Regions from separate parts of the Homo sapiens genome. Here region 2 is linked to region 1. The links are contacts of gene promoters, found by promoter capture Hi-C in human tissues and cell types (Jung and others, 2019). All regions are on one chromosome and are shown on one strand. Each heading gives the region's core, a stretch centred on a gene start or on the middle of the fragment in contact. The rest is flanking DNA. Distances are from core to core; before and after follow the strand shown.

The links. Contacts are between HindIII fragments. The study calls those that stand out against the background at their distance.
Region 2: a fragment that was not itself captured here is called in contact with the fragment with the promoter of SH2B2 in region 1 in 7 of the 25 tissues and cell types used here (H1 embryonic stem cells, IMR-90 fibroblasts, aorta and 4 more).

Annotation. Positions count from the first base shown.
Region 1 is chr7:102,283,482-102,288,140 of GRCh38, forward strand. SH2B2 (SH2B adaptor protein 2) reads left to right here and starts at 3,387. Exons shown (of 9, transcript NM_001359228.2): 1 at 3,387-3,613. It also overlaps a transcript of CUX1 not described here. RefSeq lists silencers at 743-927, 2,705-3,284, 3,355-3,894. The HindIII fragment of the contact is 12,688 bases long and covers 1-4,039 here.
Region 2 is chr7:102,375,946-102,380,980 of GRCh38, forward strand. LOC100630923 (LOC100289561-PRKRIP1 readthrough) reads left to right here. Exons shown (of 9, transcript NR_038967.1): 3 at 1-4; 4 at 267-377. It also overlaps the pseudogene LOC100289561. Among named protein-coding and RNA genes, the nearest start is that of PRKRIP1, 18 kb to the right of the region's middle. The HindIII fragment of the contact is 5,110 bases long and covers 1,150-5,035 here.

The DNA of each region.
Region 1 (4,659 bases), core at 2,137-4,636:
GGCTCTCCTAGGATCCCCCCATGCCCCGTAAGAGGTGGAAGACGCTTCCTTCCAGGACAGCAGGCTTTGAGTCCAGCACCCCCAGCCTGCCTTTGCCACCAGCCCCACCCTGCAGAGTATATGAGGCTTGACAGAGTCTGCCCCCTCCCCCACTGCACCCCAAGAGAGAGAGCCCCAGCCAGCGGAACAGTTTCTATTACCCCCTCCCTGCCCCCAGACCCATGTGATTTCTGCTTTCTTCTTTAGCAAGATATTCTGGTTTCTAGATAAGGAAGAGTCTCTAATGAGCCCCCGAGCCCCAGTCTCTTCAGACTCATGGATTGGTATGAGGGGTCTGAACGTCTCCTAGCCAATCAGAACTGGCTGTGGACCACCCTAGCACGGCCACCTCTCAGGGCCACTGGCAGGCCTTCCTGAGTTAGATTTGTAGTTGCATATTTAGCTTTGCACATTTGAAATAAACCACGGTTGCAGCCACCCTGGTGCCCTGTGCTCTGGGACGCTGGAGGGACTGGAGGCTGGTGGGGATGCCTGCGGTGCCACCCCTGGGAGCTGGGGCTGGCCTCACAGCTGGGCACACAGAACATTCCTCCCCCTCTTCTCATCTCCAGGAATTCCATGAGTACATTCAGAGCTCTGCTGAAACCCAGATCCAGTGTCCGAGTGCTTTTGAGAGGACAAGTAGCACCATCAAAAAGGGAAACCCATTCCTTTATTCAAAAACCACCCGGGGCCAGGCGCGGTGGGTCACACCTGTAATCCCAGCGCTTTGGGAGGCCGAGGCAGGTGGATCACTTGAGGTCAGGAGTTCGTGACCAGCCTGGCCAACGTGGTGAAACCCCGTCTCTACCAAAAATACAAAAATTAGCTGGGCATGGTGGCGCATGCCTGTAATCCCAGCCACTCAGGAGGGTGAGGCAGGAGAATCGTTTGAACCCGGGAGGCGGAGGTTGCAGTGAGCTGAGATCGTGCCAGTGCACTCCAGCCTGGGAAACAGAGTGAGACTCCATCTCAAAAAAAAAAAAAAAACCACCTGTCGGGCTGTGGTTGGGTGTATGACGTGTCTTGGTCCACGTCAGTTCCTGGGGAATCTCTGCTTCCCTTTCTGTGCTCCCCTTTCCCATGGGCCCCCGCCTGCCAGGGGCTGCAAAGCCCGTGCCCATCAATCTCCCTGAGCACCAGCCTCGCATGGGAACCCCCCGAGACACAGGTTCTGGGCCACCTCACCTCCAGCCCAGCCTCAGATAGAGGAGCGCATTCTCTGGGTCTGGAGTGGGTGCATTAACTCATTGTCCAGCTGTCACAAGACTGGCTGCAAACCCAGGTCCCCCACTGCAGCCCACCAGGCCAGGGTCCCCTGTGCTACCTCTGTCTCCATTTTAGTTCTGAACAGTCTAAAGCATGTGTATCCAGGGGCCTTTCTTTGGGGTCCCCGTCCCAGCACCCCTCATCTCCCCCATGAGGACTTCTTCCAAGCCCCTCAAGCCTCCTGCCCTCAGGGACCCAGGATGGACCTTTCCTCCCTGACCTTCATTCCTATCCCCAGCGAGGCGACAGCTGCTCTTGGCCAACCACGCCCCCTCCACCCCCACAGCCACTTCCACATCTCCATCAGTTCCTCCTTGTGGGTCCGAGGCGCTCTGCCGCCGGCCCCTCCTCACTTCTTCCTCCCTGGGGATGGATCCAAGCTATTGTCCTGCCCATGGCTTCCCATCTCAGGACCCTCTCTGGCCGCTATCATCCCAGCAGTGGAGTTCAGCCCACTACTCTGAACCAGGTTAGTCCACCGCGGGTCAGGCTCTCCCCTCTCCCAGGAGGGTGGAGACCACAACCAGGCCATGTATGGAGCTTCCCTTTCTCCCACTCTCGGGCACCCCCTCCTCCCCCTTCCCGGCCTCATTCATAGGTGTCCTGGTTCCCAACCAGGCGTGCAGGCCTGTGTGCAGCTCCGATCGAGGGCTGGCCCACTGCCGAAGCTTTCATTAAAGTGTCTGCTGGCCTGGTCCTGCGGAGGGAACAGAGCCGAGATGTGGGGCAGGGAAGGGGTCTGCCTGTCTTCCGTGCCCCCGTGGAGGGCAGCACCGGGGTTTTGGGCAGCAGGTGAAGGCTCTGTCCCCTCCACCTTCAACTCTGGAAGCCCCACCTTTCCATCCCTAAGAAGGGTTTGATAAAAACCCTTGTCTGTAAATTAGAGATGGGAAATGGCTCTGGGAAAAGTCAGAGGTCAGTTTGGGCCCGGGAGGGCGACAGATGGAGGCAGCTCCGGCTGGCAAGGAGACCAGGACAGAACTGCCAGAGGTGGGGGCAGGGGACAAGGAGGGAGATGAGGGGAGAAGACACCCAGGGGTCCCCCCCTGCTATCTCCAGGAGCAAGACTACTCTCTTCTCTGAGCGGCCCTTTCCACACCTCTGCCCCCACCGAAGCCCTCCCTCCCCTCTCAGACCCCTTCCAGGCCTGCTGAGCCCCCTGCACCTCTTTCAGGAAGCCTCCCAGAGCCCCCGCGCTGTGCCCTCAGCACCAGGGGTCAGGCTACAAATGCCCCGCAAAGCCCAGCGGGACTGTTTCCTCAGCCCCACTGGTCTCTGCCCTAAAGCAGGCGAGTTCTGGAGCCAGGCAGGGGTGAGGAAGGTGCCAGGGTTGTGGCCCCTCATCGCCCCTCTATGATCTCTGACACCTCTCCGGGTGGCATCAGGCCCCCATCACAGCGAAGGCTGGGTGGTGGGGGCACTGCGCTCAGGGGGGCCGTCCCGCCCTGTGGCCCGGGGGCGATTTCCCGCACCGGAGGGCTGCAGGGAGGGGGCGTGGTGGCGCCCTCGAGATTTATGAGAACCAGGCGTCGACTTCCTCCGTTGCGACATCCAGGCCTCCTCCAGGCTCCCATTGTCCCTGCTGCGGAGAGTCTGGCCACAGCGGCGGCTCCCGCGAAGCACCCGTCAGCGAGGGGCGCTTCGAGGGCGTCCGCGTCCCATACACCCGCCACGCAGGACATTCCCCCGGCCCCACGCTCCGCGCTCCCGGGGCCACCACCACCGCGGGCTCGAGGGGTGGCCTCCACGAGGAGGAGTGGGAGTCCCGCGCCTGGCCTGGGGCCGGCTCGGCGACATGGGGACCCCCGCCCAGATGGGGCGACTCGGAGCCGGCTCCTAACCCCTCTCTCCGGGCCCCAGGACCGGGCAGTCTCGGCACCGCAGCTGCGGGGAGCCAGCAAGCACCGGCCACCGGCGCCGCTCGGGCTCCGCGGATGGCCGGGGGCGGGGCCTGAGCGGCGCAAGTGGGGGCGGGAGGGGGCGGGGCCAGGACGCGCGAGGGGGGGCGGGGCCGGGGCTCGCGGCGGGGGCGGGGGCGGGGCGGGGCCGGGAGGCGCGCGCCTCGCGGGCGGAGGGGCGCGCCGCGCTGGGGCTGGGCTTGGAGCGCGCGGAGCTCGGCTGCCAGAGAGCCGCGCGGGGGACGCGCCGGGACCGCGAGGAGCGCAGGAGCCTTCGAGGCGGTGAACGAGGGAGGGAGCCCAGTCCGCCGCGGGCCATGAGCCACCGGGCCCGGGGAGCCCGGCCGCGGTCCGGGCAGCGCTCAGCCGGCGCCCCAGCCCGCTCGGCCGCAGCTGCGCGCCTGTAGGTATGGCCTCCTTATACCCAGTTCCTCGCTCCCTGGTCCTTCCCCCGGGACCCCTGTCTGTCCCCGGGGACGTGCGCTGTGTGCGCACCGCTGCCCGAAGGAGAGCGGCCGCACGCGCCTTGGTCCGCGCGTGTCGTCTTTGTGTGCGCGGGTGGGAGGGAGGAGGGCGCGCGAGGGAGGGGAGGCGCCCCCGGCTGGGATCTGCTCCCCGATCCCCATCCCGGGCGGGGCGGGGAGCCGCTGGAGGGGCCGAGCCGCCTCTGGAGCAGCTGCGCCCCCGCCCCCTGCTAGGGCCCCGGCCGGGTAGTGGGGCGAGAGCAGCCGGGTCCTTAGAGGAGGGGTCTCTGGTTGGGGGAAGGGGTGCCCAGGTCTCTTCCCTACGCTGGGAGCGCTGGGAGGGGGCGTCAACCTAGAATGAGGGTGAGGGCCACGGGATGGGATCGGGGAGGACCTCCTCCAGGCCACAGGCACGCCCTCCCTTTGGCCCAGGCCCCCCTTTCTCGACCTGCCCAGCCGGGGAGCTCCCCGGAGCCCCCGATTGCCGGGAGGATCGTGGAGGGTGCCCAAGAGGCCGGCGCCTTTAAGAAGGGGCGGGTTCGTGCCCTCCATTCAGGCCCTTGGGCCTCGGCCATTGATGAACCTGCGGGCTGCGCGGGCCGGAACCGCGCCAGCCCAGCGGGCTGAAGCCGGGCAGAGGCAGGGACGCATCCTGGCCCCCTGCAGCCCCGAAGTGGGGGCCTTCAGGGAGGGAAGTCTGCAGTGACTGGAGCCTCTCAGGAGCCACGCAAGGCAGACCGGGCAGCCCCAGGCGAGACTCTGAACACGAATAAGCCAGGATCTACGTGCACTTCGAGCTAGTGCAAGGGAGAGCCTCAGGCTAGGCTGTCAGACCTGGGTGGAGCCCTACCAATGCCCCCGAGCCAACATCACCTACCCTGTAAAATGGGATGGTGCTGCCTGCCTCCTGGCTAAGGGACCGGCAACTCCCGGCAGGAATTGCGTCCCAGAGTCAGGTCCCTGGAGCTCCTCTGGGAGGACTGGGGGCA
Region 2 (5,035 bases), core at 2,455-4,954, 93 kb after region 1:
GTGGGTGAGGATAGCTTGCTTTCTGAATGCTCTCAGTTGAATGGGGTTTTATCCTTGAGTTTGAAGAAATAAGTGATGACACCATTTAATTCCTTGTGGGCACTAGCTGGAGCGTTTATATTATTCTTCATTGAAAGGTTCTAACTTTGATAAGGTAAAAAATGGAGCACTTCTGTTATGCAGCTTATGAGGTGGCAACATCTTGTACTTTGGAGATTCTGAAGCCAAGCAGCTTGCCCAAGTCCTTCTTCTTTTCCCATTAACAGGGTATGATTATCACCAAGCCAAACATCATCATGGAGTGGAGGTGAAGGAAGTGGAGCAGGGAGAGGAGCCGTGGATAATGGAAGGTGAATTTCCATGTCAACATAGTCCAGGTAAGTTAGTAGATTATCACATGTTAAAAAACACTCATCCCCGACCTTTGGGAGTGACTAAAGAGTTGTTTATATGTACTCGGTACCCTCAGTAACACCTCCCAACCCCCAAATATCACTTTCCTTCCCACACACATACCACATACATGAACTCTTTTGTTGATTTTACATTTGATTTACATTGGTAGGGATTTTTTCATTCTAACCTGTACTGGGGACCCAGTCACTTCCTCTTTCTCCAGCATTATCGCTCACTTATTTACTCCCTCGCCATTAGAGAATTGTTGTGAGTTTTTTGTTTGTTTGTTTGTTTGTTTGTTTTTTGGAGACAGAGTCTTGTTCTATCACCCAGGCTGGTGTGCACTGGTATGTTCTCGCTCACTGCAACCACTATCTCTCAGGTTCAAGCGATTCTCCTTCCTCAGCCTCCTGAGTAGCTGGGATTACAGGCACATGTCACCACGCCTGGCTAATTTTTGTATTTTTAATAGAGACTGGGTTTCACCATGTTGGCCATGCTGGTCTTGAACTTCTGGCCTCAAGTGATCTGCCCACCTCAGCCTTCCAAAGTGCTGAGATTACAGTCCTGAGCCACTGCTTTCGGCCTTACAGAATTGTTTTGTTTTGGGGCATTCAGAAGTCTGACATAAAAATTAACTTGAGACTTTTAGGTTCATTCTTTTAATCTTCCATTTTCTTTCCTTCCTTGCTTTAAAAATACCTTGGACTTATTTTCTGCCCTCGATTTTATTTACTTCTTTAGGCATTCAGATACCAAAACCTCGTCCTCTACCTATGCTTGCGAATTGAGTCACAGCTTGTGGTTTACCTTATTTCCCCAAGTCCATGCTCAGTTGATGTGATGATATAGCGCTCCCTCAGCTTTCCCCTCTTTCCCCAGTGCTCATTTATGACCCGTCTGTGTGTTCATTTCCCCTTCCCCATAACTGGCATCATGCTCTGTCCATAGTAGACATTCAGGAAGTGTGAATTTCATAAGGGAATGTTGGTTCCTTTTCTTGCCTTTTCAGGAGTGTCCCCCTAGAACCCGTTTTCTACTTTTTTGGTTTTCTTTGTATCCCTTAAAAGAGTTTTTCTAATCTCAACTTCTAAGACCTTTTTTCTTGTGTATTTTTGCAGTTTGCCTCCAGATTGATATGTCTGACACTTTTAACCTAGTTGAATATTTTACTTGACAACATAGCAGTACCAGTGAGATAGTTCACTTCCTTCTTTCTCAGAATGTCTGATGATAAACTGTGCACATTCCAAAATCATGAATTCTGTCTACCTTCCTCACCTCCCAGTATTTGATTGTGTTAGTCTCCTCTCCATTGTTTGTGTTCTTTGTCTTCTGTGAAATGCCTTGCAGATCATCAGCACATTGTTTCTTTTGACATTAGTGTTCAGTATTCTCCCATACCTGGATTACAGTGGATCCATCTTCCATTCAAAGGATCATGGTCCTTTTCCTTCATCTGCATTTTACTGGCCCAGATAATATATATTTTCCCTCCCTTTCTTCCTCCCCTCCCCTCCCTCGCTTCCTTCCTTCCTTCCTTTTTGAGATGGAGTCTCACTCTGGTCACCCAGGCTGGAGTGCAATGGCATGATCTCGGCTCAGTGCAGCCTCCCCCTCTCAGGTTCAAGGGATTCTCCTGCCTCACCCTCCCAAAGCAGCCGGGATTACAGGTGCACACCACCATGCCTGGCTAATTTTTATATTTTTAGTAGAGATGGGGTTTCACCATATTGGTCAGGCTCGTCTCTAACTCCTGACCTTGTGATCCGCCTGCCTCATCCTCTCAAAGTGCTGGGATTACAGGCCTGAGCCACTGTGCCCAGCCTATTTATTTATTGAGACAGAGTCTCACTCTGTCACTGAGGCTGGAGCGCACTGGCGCAATCTTGGCTCATGATAACCTCTGCCTCCCAGGTTCAAGTGATTCTTGTGCCTCAGCCGCCCGAGTAGCTGGGATTACAGGTGTGCACCATCATGCCCGGCCTATTTTTGTATTTTTAGTAGAGACGGGGATTCAGTCTGTTGGCCAGGAGTTCACTCTGTTGGGCTCCTGGCCTTGTGAGCTGCCTGCCTCAGCTTCCCAAAGTGCTGGGATTACAGGCGTGAGCACTGCACCCAGCCCCCTTCATTTAATTTTAAATTGTGGTTAAAAAAAGAACCTAACATGGCCGGGCGTGGTGGCTCATACCTGTAATCCCAGCACTTTGGGAGGCCGAGGCGGGCAGATCACGAGGTCAGGAGATCAAGACCATCCTGGTGAACACAGTGAAACCCCATCTCTACTAAAAATACAAAAAAATTAGCTGAGTGTGGTGGCGGGCACCTGTAGTCCTAGCTACTTGGGAGGCTGAGGCAGGAGAATGGCATGAACCTGGGGGGCGGACTTGCAGTGAGCAGAGATCGCACCACTGCACTCCAGTCTGGGCGACAGAGCGAGACTCCGTCTCAAAAAAAAAAAAAACCACGTTTGACCTAGCCCAAAGATTCCAGCACATAAGAACTCCAGGGAAATGAGTGGCTCACAATAAACCTAGTAAACCTATAAAGACAACTGGAATTAAAATGTGCTCAGGTCCTTGTAGAAGACAAGAAATCCAAAGGAAATCAAGCAAAGGGGGAAAAAGAAACAGAAAAGATAAAATGAATGTACCAACTCAATACTAGGCCATAAGGCTAAGTCTCCATAAATTTCTTTCTTTTTTTTTTTTTTTGAGACAGAGTCTCACTCTGTTACCCAGGCTGGAGTGCCGTGGCACAATCTCAGCTCATTGCAACCTCTGCCTCCCGGATTCAAGCAATTCTCACGCCTCAGCCTCCCAAGTGGCTGGGATTACAGACAAACGCCACCACATGCAGCTAATTTTTTTATTTTTAGTAGAGACAGGGTTTCAGCATGTTGGCCAGGCTGGTCTCAAACTCCTGGCCTCAAGTGATCTGCCTGCCTCAGCCTCCCCAAGTGCTGGGATCAAAGGTGTGAGCCACTGTGCCCAGCCCCTACATAAATTTCAAACACCACATTCCCTGAATACAACACAAAAAAGTTAGAAATCAAATAATGAAAATATAACTAGCAAAATTCTGTATGTTTGAAAATTTTAAATATTTTCCCAGAAACTATAAAACTACATGTTAATGTGGATAAATCTCAAACAATCTTAACTGAAATAATTAAATCACAGAAGCCTGAATAATGGATTCATTTACATAATTAAAGAACACATTCATAGTGGTAACACTATAATGAAAGATGAGAAAGATTAACACAAAGTTCACCCTAGTGTTTACCTATGGGTAATAAGGGGACTGTGAGGTAGGGTAGAAAGAAGGTACACAAAGGATCTCTACAGCACTATTAATGTTTCACTTCTTGAGCTGGGGCTAGAGATCTGGGTAATCATTTCATTTTTATTTTTTAAACTACATATAAGCTTTGTACACTTTTGGATATTAGAACTTCAATAAAATTATAAAAAAGAGAAACAGGGGAAAAAGTATAATTGTCAAGATGGAGCTAAAAAAATAACATGGGTGAACAAGGTGCCACCCACATGCAAGCTTCCTTCCCATGTCATGTAATGCCTCTCCTCATCTGCTCCATCAATCAATAAAGGCATAATCACTCCTGTGATACCTTTAAGAAAAGAACACACTCTCTCAAAGCTGGGTGCAGTGGTGCACGCCTGTAATCCCAGCCTCCTTTGGGAGGCCGAGGCGGGCAGATCACCTGAGGTCAGGAGTTGGAGACCAGCGAAACCCATCTCTACTAAAAATACAAAAATTAGCTGGGCGTGGTGGTGCTTGTCTGTAATCCCAGCTACTTGGGAGGCTGAGGCATGAGAATCGCTTGAAACCAGGAGGCAGAGGCTGCAGTGAGCCGAGACTGTGCCACTGCACTCCAGCCTGGGTGACAGAAAGAGACTCTGTCTCAAAAAAAAAAAAGGAACATGCTCTCTCATTCAAGGTTACCCTTCTATCACTCCAAGGATTCACTCCATAATCTTATCTTTCTTGATATGTTACATTCACTAAAACGTTCACATCAAATCAAGTTTGTAGACACTTGTCCTTACCACCTTACAAAAAGTGAGATGGTATCAACAGAGGTGAGACACTGCTTTACCTGCATGTCACTTTTGGCAGCTTTCACAGCATTGAAAAGATCATTGGCTGGTGGCTCTGACTGTTTCCGGCTATGACGATGTACCACTCGGGACCCTTTCTCTGGATGTTTGCCATCTAATATGTATAAAAAGATCAGAAATATGAAAAAAAGGTAACAATGACATTAACACTTGGTCTCATCATTATCACACAAGTAGGCTTATGCTGCCACTTCCATGGCAGAGTCTGAGTTAGTCCTGAAATAATTGATTTTTATATTATGAAGTTTATTAACTTTTTTCCCTTAAAAAAAAAAAGTCCTTGAGTCCCCTTCCTGTATCCCTATATCCTAACGTCCTTTTCTCTTCTTTTCTCTTCAAAATTTCTCTTCTTCCTATTTCCGTCCCTTAACACTTTGTAAATCTTGTCCTTTTATGAACCATATCACCTGAACCTCTTTTAGGTTTTTTTTTTTTTTTTTTTTTGAGACGGAGTGTCGCTCTATCACCCAGGCTGGAGTTCAGTGGCGTGATCT